Linked DNA regions of Homo sapiens: regions 2 and 3 are each linked to region 1. The links are contacts of gene promoters, found by promoter capture Hi-C in blood cells and fetal thymus (Javierre and others, 2016). All regions are on one chromosome and are shown on one strand. Each heading gives the region's core, a stretch centred on a gene start or on the middle of the fragment in contact. The rest is flanking DNA. Distances are from core to core; before and after follow the strand shown.

The links. Contacts are between HindIII fragments. The CHiCAGO score rates a contact against its expected background, and 5 or more counts as called.
Region 2: a contact is called between a fragment that was not itself captured here and the fragment with the promoter of SIX3 in region 1, in 1 of 17 cell types (total B cells). The highest score is 5.4, in total B cells.
Region 3: a contact is called between a fragment that was not itself captured here and the fragment with the promoter of SIX3 in region 1, in 1 of 17 cell types (fetal thymus). The highest score is 5.3, in fetal thymus.

The regions. Positions count from the first base shown.
Region 1 is chr2:44,940,333-44,943,130 of GRCh38, forward strand. It overlaps SIX3 (SIX homeobox 3), which reads left to right and starts at 1,370. Exons shown (of 2, transcript NM_005413.4): 1 at 1,370-2,578. The coding sequence starts at 1,773. It overlaps SIX3-AS1 (SIX3 antisense RNA 1), which reads right to left and starts at 1,546. Exons shown (of 2, transcript NR_103786.1): 1 at 1,378-1,546; 2 at 1-501. RefSeq lists enhancers at 1-35, 804-1,330, 2,413-2,798. The HindIII fragment of the contact is 26,724 bases long and covers 1-2,798 here.
Region 2 is chr2:44,371,325-44,374,122 of GRCh38, forward strand. It overlaps CAMKMT (calmodulin-lysine N-methyltransferase), which reads left to right. Exons shown (of 11, transcript NM_024766.5): 2 at 1,392-1,564. Among named protein-coding and RNA genes, the nearest start is that of CAMKMT, 11 kb to the left of the region's middle. The HindIII fragment of the contact is 1,229 bases long and covers 713-1,941 here.
Region 3 is chr2:45,492,920-45,495,717 of GRCh38, forward strand. The region is part of intron 14 of SRBD1 (S1 RNA binding domain 1); the gene reads right to left. Among named protein-coding and RNA genes, the nearest start is that of SRBD1, 120 kb to the right of the region's middle. The HindIII fragment of the contact is 286 bases long and covers 1,194-1,479 here.

The DNA of each region.
Region 1 (2,798 bases), core at 120-2,619:
GGGAAAGACGTCTCTGACCCCGACAAATCTGCGTAAATCACACTTCCATAGTTACAGAAGCCTCACAAAGGGAGGCCCGGCTCAAGATGCTGATTACAGCTTCTTAAAAGCAACATACCTAAGAATAAATACCCATGCCTGGCCTAGGGGCTGTGGTGGCCAGAGGCAGAGAGGGCCCTCTGTGTTCTATGGGCCTTTTGGCGTCTGTTTTAGGCTTTCGATGTTACTTTCCCTAGAGAAATTAGACAGTTTAAAAATAATAATGGTAATTATTATTATTTTACAATACGAGCAAACAAGCAATTTTCAGGCCTTATTCACTTCATCCGGGTGGCTGGCCTCCAAAGTTTGAGTGCCCTCTGGGGCTGGCAGGCAGGACCAGAGCTCCTTCTGTTGTGTGGTGAGGAGTGGGCATCTGTAGGACTTTTCTGGGTCCAGAGGGCTCTTGGGCTTCTCGGCTCCCGCAGCTCCTCCACCACTCCTCAGAGAGGCAGCTGAATTCTGGGAAGAAACAAAGAGTTGAGTTGCTTCTTAAGATGGAAAGAAGTGTACTGTTTGGACTGTTATTTTAAAATACAGGGTGGTGGGGGAAATCGAGGCTCCTTGGCCGGGGAGGGAGTAAAGAGAAGCCTAATTGATGAAGAGGGAGTTGAGGTGAATGCGGTCCATGGGCACCGATGGGGGAGGCAAGAGCGGCCTCCAGCACCCTGGGAATTGGGCTCAGGCTCCCTGGCGCCAGATACCCTCGGAATCCGGGATCCCCGGCTGGCGCCACGGCCCGCTGGGCCAAGGTCGGTGCTTGGTGGGCCCCATGATCTCATCTCTCCTTTCTTCCTTGCCACTATTAGTGCTCACATAGGCAGAAAGAGGCGGCCCGACGTGCAAACCATGTGCAAACCGCGCCCGCTGGGCTGGTCAGCCGTCTTTCCTTGCCTGCCGACCTGGACTATGTGGAGCCTGGGGGACCCTCTTGCCTCCCAACAAAATCCCCTCTCTAATTGCACATCCCATTCAACAACTCTGCCCAGGGCTTTTCGAATTTCTGGATCAACTTCTTTAGGAAAAAGGGAAGAAGAAGTCTCAGAGACAGCGGTAGAGAAAAGAGGAGAGAGAGGGAGAAGAGAGAAGAGAGGAGGGGGAGGTAGCGAGATTAAGAGTTGCAAAGATAAAAAAAATTCTCTTTATCCCCCCACTTCTCCCTCCTTCCCTGCTCTCCCCCTCCCCCCGCCCTCTGGCTAAGTGGTAAAACCGTCCTTACGTTCTCGGTATTGATTGGCAGGGCTGACAGTGATTGGCAGTGGTTGCCGTGGCAACGCCACAACGACACGCCACAGACCAATAGAAAAGCGAAACAAAATGTTTCAATGCTGCACTCACTGTGGATTTAGGGGAGATATTATGAGGCTGTTGTCATTAGGGCGATTGCGGTGGAATCGCTGAATCTTGACTCGGCGGTGGTTGGCTCTCCCTCTCCTCTCTCCCTCTCCCTCTCCCTCTCTGTCTCGGGTTCTCTCTCTGCGCGCGCGCACCGGGCCGCTCTCCTACCTCCCTCTCTATGTGGCTGCGCGGGTGTGTGTGTGTGTGGATGTGTGTGGGGTGTGGGTGTCCCTTACGCCCTTCCTCCTCTCCCTCCTCCTCCTGCTCCCCCCTCCTTTCCTTCTCCTCCTCCCCCCTCTCCTCTCCCTCCTCCTGGTCCTCATCGCCCCTCTCCTCCTCTTCCTCCCCTCTCTCTTCCTCTCCCTGAATTTTCTCCTCTCCTCTCAGGTCAGTCCATGGTATTCCGCTCCCCCCTAGACCTCTATTCCTCCCACTTCTTGTTGCCAAACTTCGCCGATTCTCACCACCGCTCCATACTTCTGGCGAGTAGCGGCGGCGGGAACGGTGCGGGAGGCGGCGGCGGCGCGGGAGGCGGCAGCGGCGGCGGGAACGGTGCGGGAGGCGGCGGTGCTGGCGGAGCAGGCGGCGGCGGCGGCGGCGGCTCCAGGGCCCCCCCGGAAGAGTTGTCCATGTTCCAGCTGCCCACCCTCAACTTCTCGCCGGAGCAGGTGGCCAGCGTCTGTGAGACGCTGGAGGAGACGGGCGACATCGAGCGGCTGGGCCGCTTCCTCTGGTCGCTGCCCGTGGCCCCCGGGGCGTGCGAGGCCATCAACAAACACGAGTCGATCCTGCGCGCGCGCGCCGTGGTCGCCTTCCACACGGGCAACTTCCGCGACCTCTACCACATCCTTGAGAACCACAAGTTCACCAAGGAGTCTCACGGCAAGCTGCAGGCCATGTGGCTCGAGGCGCACTACCAGGAGGCCGAGAAGCTGCGCGGCCGCCCACTCGGCCCGGTGGACAAGTACCGCGTGCGCAAGAAGTTCCCGCTGCCACGCACCATCTGGGACGGCGAGCAGAAGACGCATTGCTTCAAGGAGCGGACTCGGAGCCTGTTGCGGGAGTGGTACCTACAGGACCCCTACCCCAACCCCAGCAAGAAACGCGAACTGGCGCAGGCCACCGGCCTCACTCCCACACAAGTAGGCAACTGGTTTAAGAACCGGCGGCAGCGCGACCGCGCCGCGGCGGCCAAGAACAGGTTAGTGGCGGGGCCCGCGGCCTGGCTACAGCCTCAGAGGCCTGGGAAGGGGAGAGGGGTTGAGATGGGGCTAGCGGAGCGGCCGCTGAGAGCCAGGGAAGCCGTGACTCCTGGCCAGTCGGAGAAAGTTTCCGCTTGTCCGGGACGCGCGGAAGAGGGGGCCGGGCTGGCTGTGGGTGTATTGATTGCTTTGACCAAGAGGGGCTTTCGTCAGGGCAGA
Region 2 (2,798 bases), core at 77-2,576, 570 kb before region 1:
CTCAGGCTGGTCTGGAATTCCTGGCCTCAAGCAGTCCTCCTGCCTCAGCCTTCCAAAGTGTTAGGATTACAGACATGAGCCACTGCACCTGGCCTATAGTTTTTATTATGTGTTCTTTTTCTGTTTCACAGGTTATTTATAAGTACATTGCCTAGTTTCCAAATATATTTGGCTTTTCAAATATCTTTTTCTTTATTTTTGTTTGCTTATGAGTCTGAAGTTATTTTATATCTAAGATTTTTCTATCATGGGAAATATAAAACATATATAAAGCTAGAGAGAACAATACAATAATCATTCAGGTACTGATAAGCTTCAACACTGTTAACTCATGAACAGCTGTGTTTATTCTCACTTCTCCCATTGCCCCACCACCATTATTTTGAAGCAAATCTCAGATGTCATTTTTTCTTTAAATATTTCATTATGAACTTATAAAAATGACATTAAAAAATCACAATACCACATCAACCCAGAATAATTAATTGATGTCATGAAATATCTGATCAGTTTTCAAATTTTCCCCATTTTGTCATAATTTTTCTTTATAATTTGATTATTTTGGAGGAGGATCCAAATAAAATCCAAGCATTATTATTGGTTGATATGCCCCACACTTAAAAACCTGGCTTTTAGCAACACCAGCAAAATTATTCATTATGCTAAAACATACATACCTTGCATACTCAATATACCTCCCCATTCCTAGGTAAGCTTTGAAATTCAACTTTTCTCTCCTAGCTCCATAGGTTGTTAAAGAAGCAGCTTATCTTCTTGGTTCTTTCTTTTAGAATTGACACATATCCCCAGGAGAAAAGTGGTTGCAAAAGTCAGAGTAACCTTTGTAGGTTTTCTCCTTTTAAAGATATAAGACTGCAAGCCAAGTGCTGTGGCTCACTTCTGTAATCCCAGCACTTTGGGAGGCCAGGGTTGAAGATCACTTGAGCCCAGGAGTTTGAATCCAGCCTGGGTAATATAGGGAGACCCCATCTCTACAAAAAATTTAAAAAATTAACCAGACGTGGTGGTGCATACTTTTAGTTCCAGCTGCTAGGGAGCCTGAGGTAGGAGGATCGCCTGAACCCAGCTGGGTGACAGGCTGGGTGACAGTGAGGCTGCGTGACAAAGTAAGATCCTGTCTCAAAAAAAAAAAAAAAAGATATCAGACTTGTAAATCTTCACTGTCTTTGCTCTCTGATGTCTTCAAGTAATGCTTTAAAATATTTTGTTCATCTTTTATAGTTATCTTCAGTAGGAGATATATCTGAATTATCTAATCTGTCATTATTAGAAGGGAAAGTCCCCTTACCACTTAAATTTTGAACATTTTGAACACTAAACTTACTATATGTTTAGATAACATGACTGCAATATTTGGCTTTATTTCAAAGGTTCTGAAGCAAAAACACCTGGATGATTGCCTGCGACATGTATCTGTAAGAAGATTTGAATCATTTAATCTGTTTTCAGTAACAGAAGGCAAAGAAAGGGAAACTGAAGAGGAGGTTGGTGCATGGGTCCAATATACAAGCATCTTCTGTCCTGAATACAGTATCTCCTTAAGGTAACCATTATTCTAGTTAAGATTTTGTAAACACTAGATTTCTCTTGGATAAGAAAAACAATCTAATAAGAATCATCATTATTTATTCTATTGAGTTTACGGGCAATCTTTTTCAGAACTTAGGTTTTACAACTTGTTTTAGGAAATCCTGCTATTTTAACTGGGTCTTGCTGTATTATCAGACTAAAGGAAACAAGTTCTCACAAATATAGTGGCATTTGAAGATAAGGTGGTTGCAAATCAAAGGGTTCATTTAAACATTCTGTCATAACATTTGTTTATGACAAAAAGCCATGTTTGTTCTGAGGCAAAGAAGGGGCTGAAAGTGAAAACAGAATTTTTCCAAACTACCCTTCAAGTAATAATCTGAAAAATCAAGCTTTGGTATTTTTTCCATTTATTTATTTTTTTATTACTTTCAGAATAGAATCAATCTTAAGACTAAAGGAGAAAATTCAACTGAAAACACTGATATTGTAAGAAGCATATGGACTGTTCTGACTTTAAAAATCATTAGAAAAGAGACAAGAGAGTTACAGACTGCAATAACAAGATACCATTTTACTGAATTAATTTTCTCTCACAGTTATGTTCTAGCATGTTGCAATATTACTGTAGGTGTTTGATTTTATAAAATCTGCCTTTTCTGACAGTATTTCACATTTTGAAAGGGAGGGAGGAGCACATTTACAGTAACTGTAAGAAGAGCAAAAAACATTTTAAGTGTAAATGTGACTGAATAAGGTTTAGGTGAGGCTAGGAATAATTTTAAGAAAAAAATTTTCACAAAGGGTATCTTTTTATAGTATATGTTTCTCGAGCTATTTTAGTTTAGAATATCTAAGCTTTAAAACATAATAGCTAAAAATTGGGATTTGGATAAAAATTGACTAGGTTGGGCAGGAAAGAACAATTAGAATCTGGTTTTATAATACTATTTTACTGAAAATGCCGGCTGGGCGCAGTGGCTCATGCCTGTAATCCTAGCACTTCAGGAGGCCAAGGTGGGTGGATCACTTGACCCTAGGAGTTCAAGACCAGCCTGGGCAACATGGCAAAACCCCACCTTTACAAAAAATACAAAAATTAATTGGGCATGGTGGCATGTGCCTATGGTCTTAGCTACTCCAGAGGCTGAGGTGGAAAGATTGATTGAGCCCGGGAGGTTGAGGCTGCTGTGAGCTGTGCCATTGCATTCTAGCCTGGATGACAGAGTAAGACTCTGCCTCAAAAA
Region 3 (2,798 bases), core at 87-2,586, 550 kb after region 1:
GTAATTTGCTTAAATAAAAATGCAGTTATTTAGTAAGATACCAAAAATCAACTGGGATATAATTACTCAACACTGACTGATACCTTTTTAATTCTTTACAAAAGTATATTAGAATTCTTCAGGCTCTACAAATATCTAGCATCTTCCCCTTTTCCTTCCTTCTGCCTATCAAAAATGAAGGTATTAAAAAGCCACTATGCCAAATGCCTAGCTCATCTCAAAGTTTTAAAAATAATTTATCTAAAAAACATTCTTCCAACTTGTCAGACTGAGAAACATATCGTGAGAGGTTAAATGACTTGCACTAGGTTTCTCAACGAGTAATACAAAGCACTAAAAACATGAACCAACATAAATCTTAATTATTTGCATATGAGATAACCTGTTCTGAAGTATCAAAAGAATAGCTGTTTGTATTTTAGGGATAGGAGACAAGGCCAAAAACTAAACTACCACGAACAGTGGGGGCTCTGAGATTTAATGCTTAAAGGGTAGAGCTTACTTCTAAGAAAATATCAAAGCAATTTTAAATTCTTTTATGTAATGATGAATTATCATTTCAAGGATTCTCAAATGAGCAATATCTAGTCATCTTAAAAACTTAGGTAAGGCCAGGCACGGTGGCACACACCTGTAATCCCAGCACTTTGGGAGGCCCAGGTGGGTGGATCACCTGAGGTCAGGAGTTCAAGACCAGCCTGACTAACATGGTGAATCCCAGTCTCTACTAAATACAAAAAAAAAATCAGCCAAGCGTGGTGGTACATGCCTGTAATCCCAGCTACTCAGGAGGCTGAGGCAGAATCGTTTGAATCTGGAAGGTGAAGGTTGTAGTGAGCCAAGATCGCGCCACTGCACTCCATCCTGGGCAACAAGAATGAAACTTCAACTCAAAAAAAAAAAAAAATAAAATAAATTAGGTAATCTAGTGATTAAGAGGACATACGGAAACAAGCAGAATCATGTCCCGTCAAAGACTTTCAAACTGCAGAACTCTTTGGATGGTAAATTGAAAATCAGATCAAAAATCACAAAAATGTACATTCTCTCTGAACTAGCTATTATATTTTTAGCAATACATGCAAATGAAATGTAAAAATTCAAAAAAATTAAACTGCACTATTTATGATAGCACAACTGTGACTGAAACAAAGTGGAAAAAAATGCCTATCATTACAGTGTTCATTTAATTAAGCTTTCATTAAGAATTATTATTGTAAAATATTTTTATCTCATGTAAAATATTTATGATAAATTATTAAGTTAAAACTGGGTAAAGAAAAAGCAGGCTTATGTAATATAATGTTAATAGTATTTAAACATGTATTATTACTTTAATTGTATTCTTGTTTAAGTTTTTCTGCAATAACCATGTAATACTCATATGTAATCAGAAAAGGTTTAAAAATGTAAGAACAATTATTAATTGGTCAGGGAATCATATCAGATAATGGCCAACTTTTTTTTTTTAATTTACCAAGCTTTCTTTTAAAGTTATTGTGAACTTAAATCTTGGTAAATACATCATTTGTTTGTAGAAGATCTCAAGCAATGACATTTTATGACATCATTATGATAACATAAAAGAAAGATAGCTAAGCAGAAAAGTCAAGAATAAGTTCTCAACTTTTACACACAGGCCATTTAAGAAGCAAATGAATGATTAAAAAAATCTTATAAGAAAATACAAATTATACATCCTTAAATTTCACTTGGTCCTTGCCCTCTTGAATTTTACTTGGCCTCCCAAGTTATCCTTCATGATCACTAAGGCATAACCAGCTCACTATCTACAATATAAAATATGTGAAGTGATGCAGCAGTATGCCAGGAAAGTAGCATGTATGAAAAAGTACTAAGGGCAAAATATGGTGAGGCAGAAAAAGAGAAAGAAAATACACAACCTCCTTACTTCAATACCAAAGGAGTTTACCTTTAGATACGTAACACTAGCACCATCTGGTGGAGGACAAGTTAGAAGCAATTCTTCAATTACCAGCGTTTTGTTTTTGTTTTTTTAAGTTTGTTATGTTTCAAAAAAGATGATCATTTTCCACAGAGAACAACTCTAGTAGTGGTACAGTTATCACACAGAGGATCCACACCAAGCCTGGGAGAAAATAAAAAGTCTACCAACCAGAGGATCTAAGTATACTCCAGGATGGACATCCTATCAAATCTTAGCTACAGAGCAGTCTTTCAAAAGAACAGAATTATCTTGGCTACTTCTCTTTTGGTGCCCCATACCACAGTGGATGAAAAGAACACTTTCCAACCACAAAATAAACCTAAAATGGACAGACCCGAATTACCAACTAAAAAGCAGAGCTTTAATTTGGATTTTGGGGTTCCAAACTTCACAGAGATGACAAACTCAATGGTACCTTCAAATGCCATCATGGGGAAAAGCAAATCAACAAACTGAAGGACAAAAAAGATGGAAAGTTTGTTTCCTATTTGTAGATTAAGTACCTCTACTGAGGTAGAAGAAATTTCAACAAAGAATGGCGTAAGCAGAAATTGTTTCCCCTTACCTTCCACAGTAAGCATCTCACTCTCTCTCTCTCTTCCCTCTCTCCCCGCATTCTGCTTTTCTCTTTCAAAATCCCTCTTTTATCTTTTTTCTCTACCTGTATCTGATACCAACATAAAGTTGTTGCCATACCATAAAGTATTTAATGGTACCACTAAGGAAACTAAAGAAAAAAACTGCCACAGGACCAAACACAAGACCTGATGCGTAAGTGGCATTCGACTAGGCAAGAGGCAAGGGCCTGGTTGATACTGGGACAGGAAAA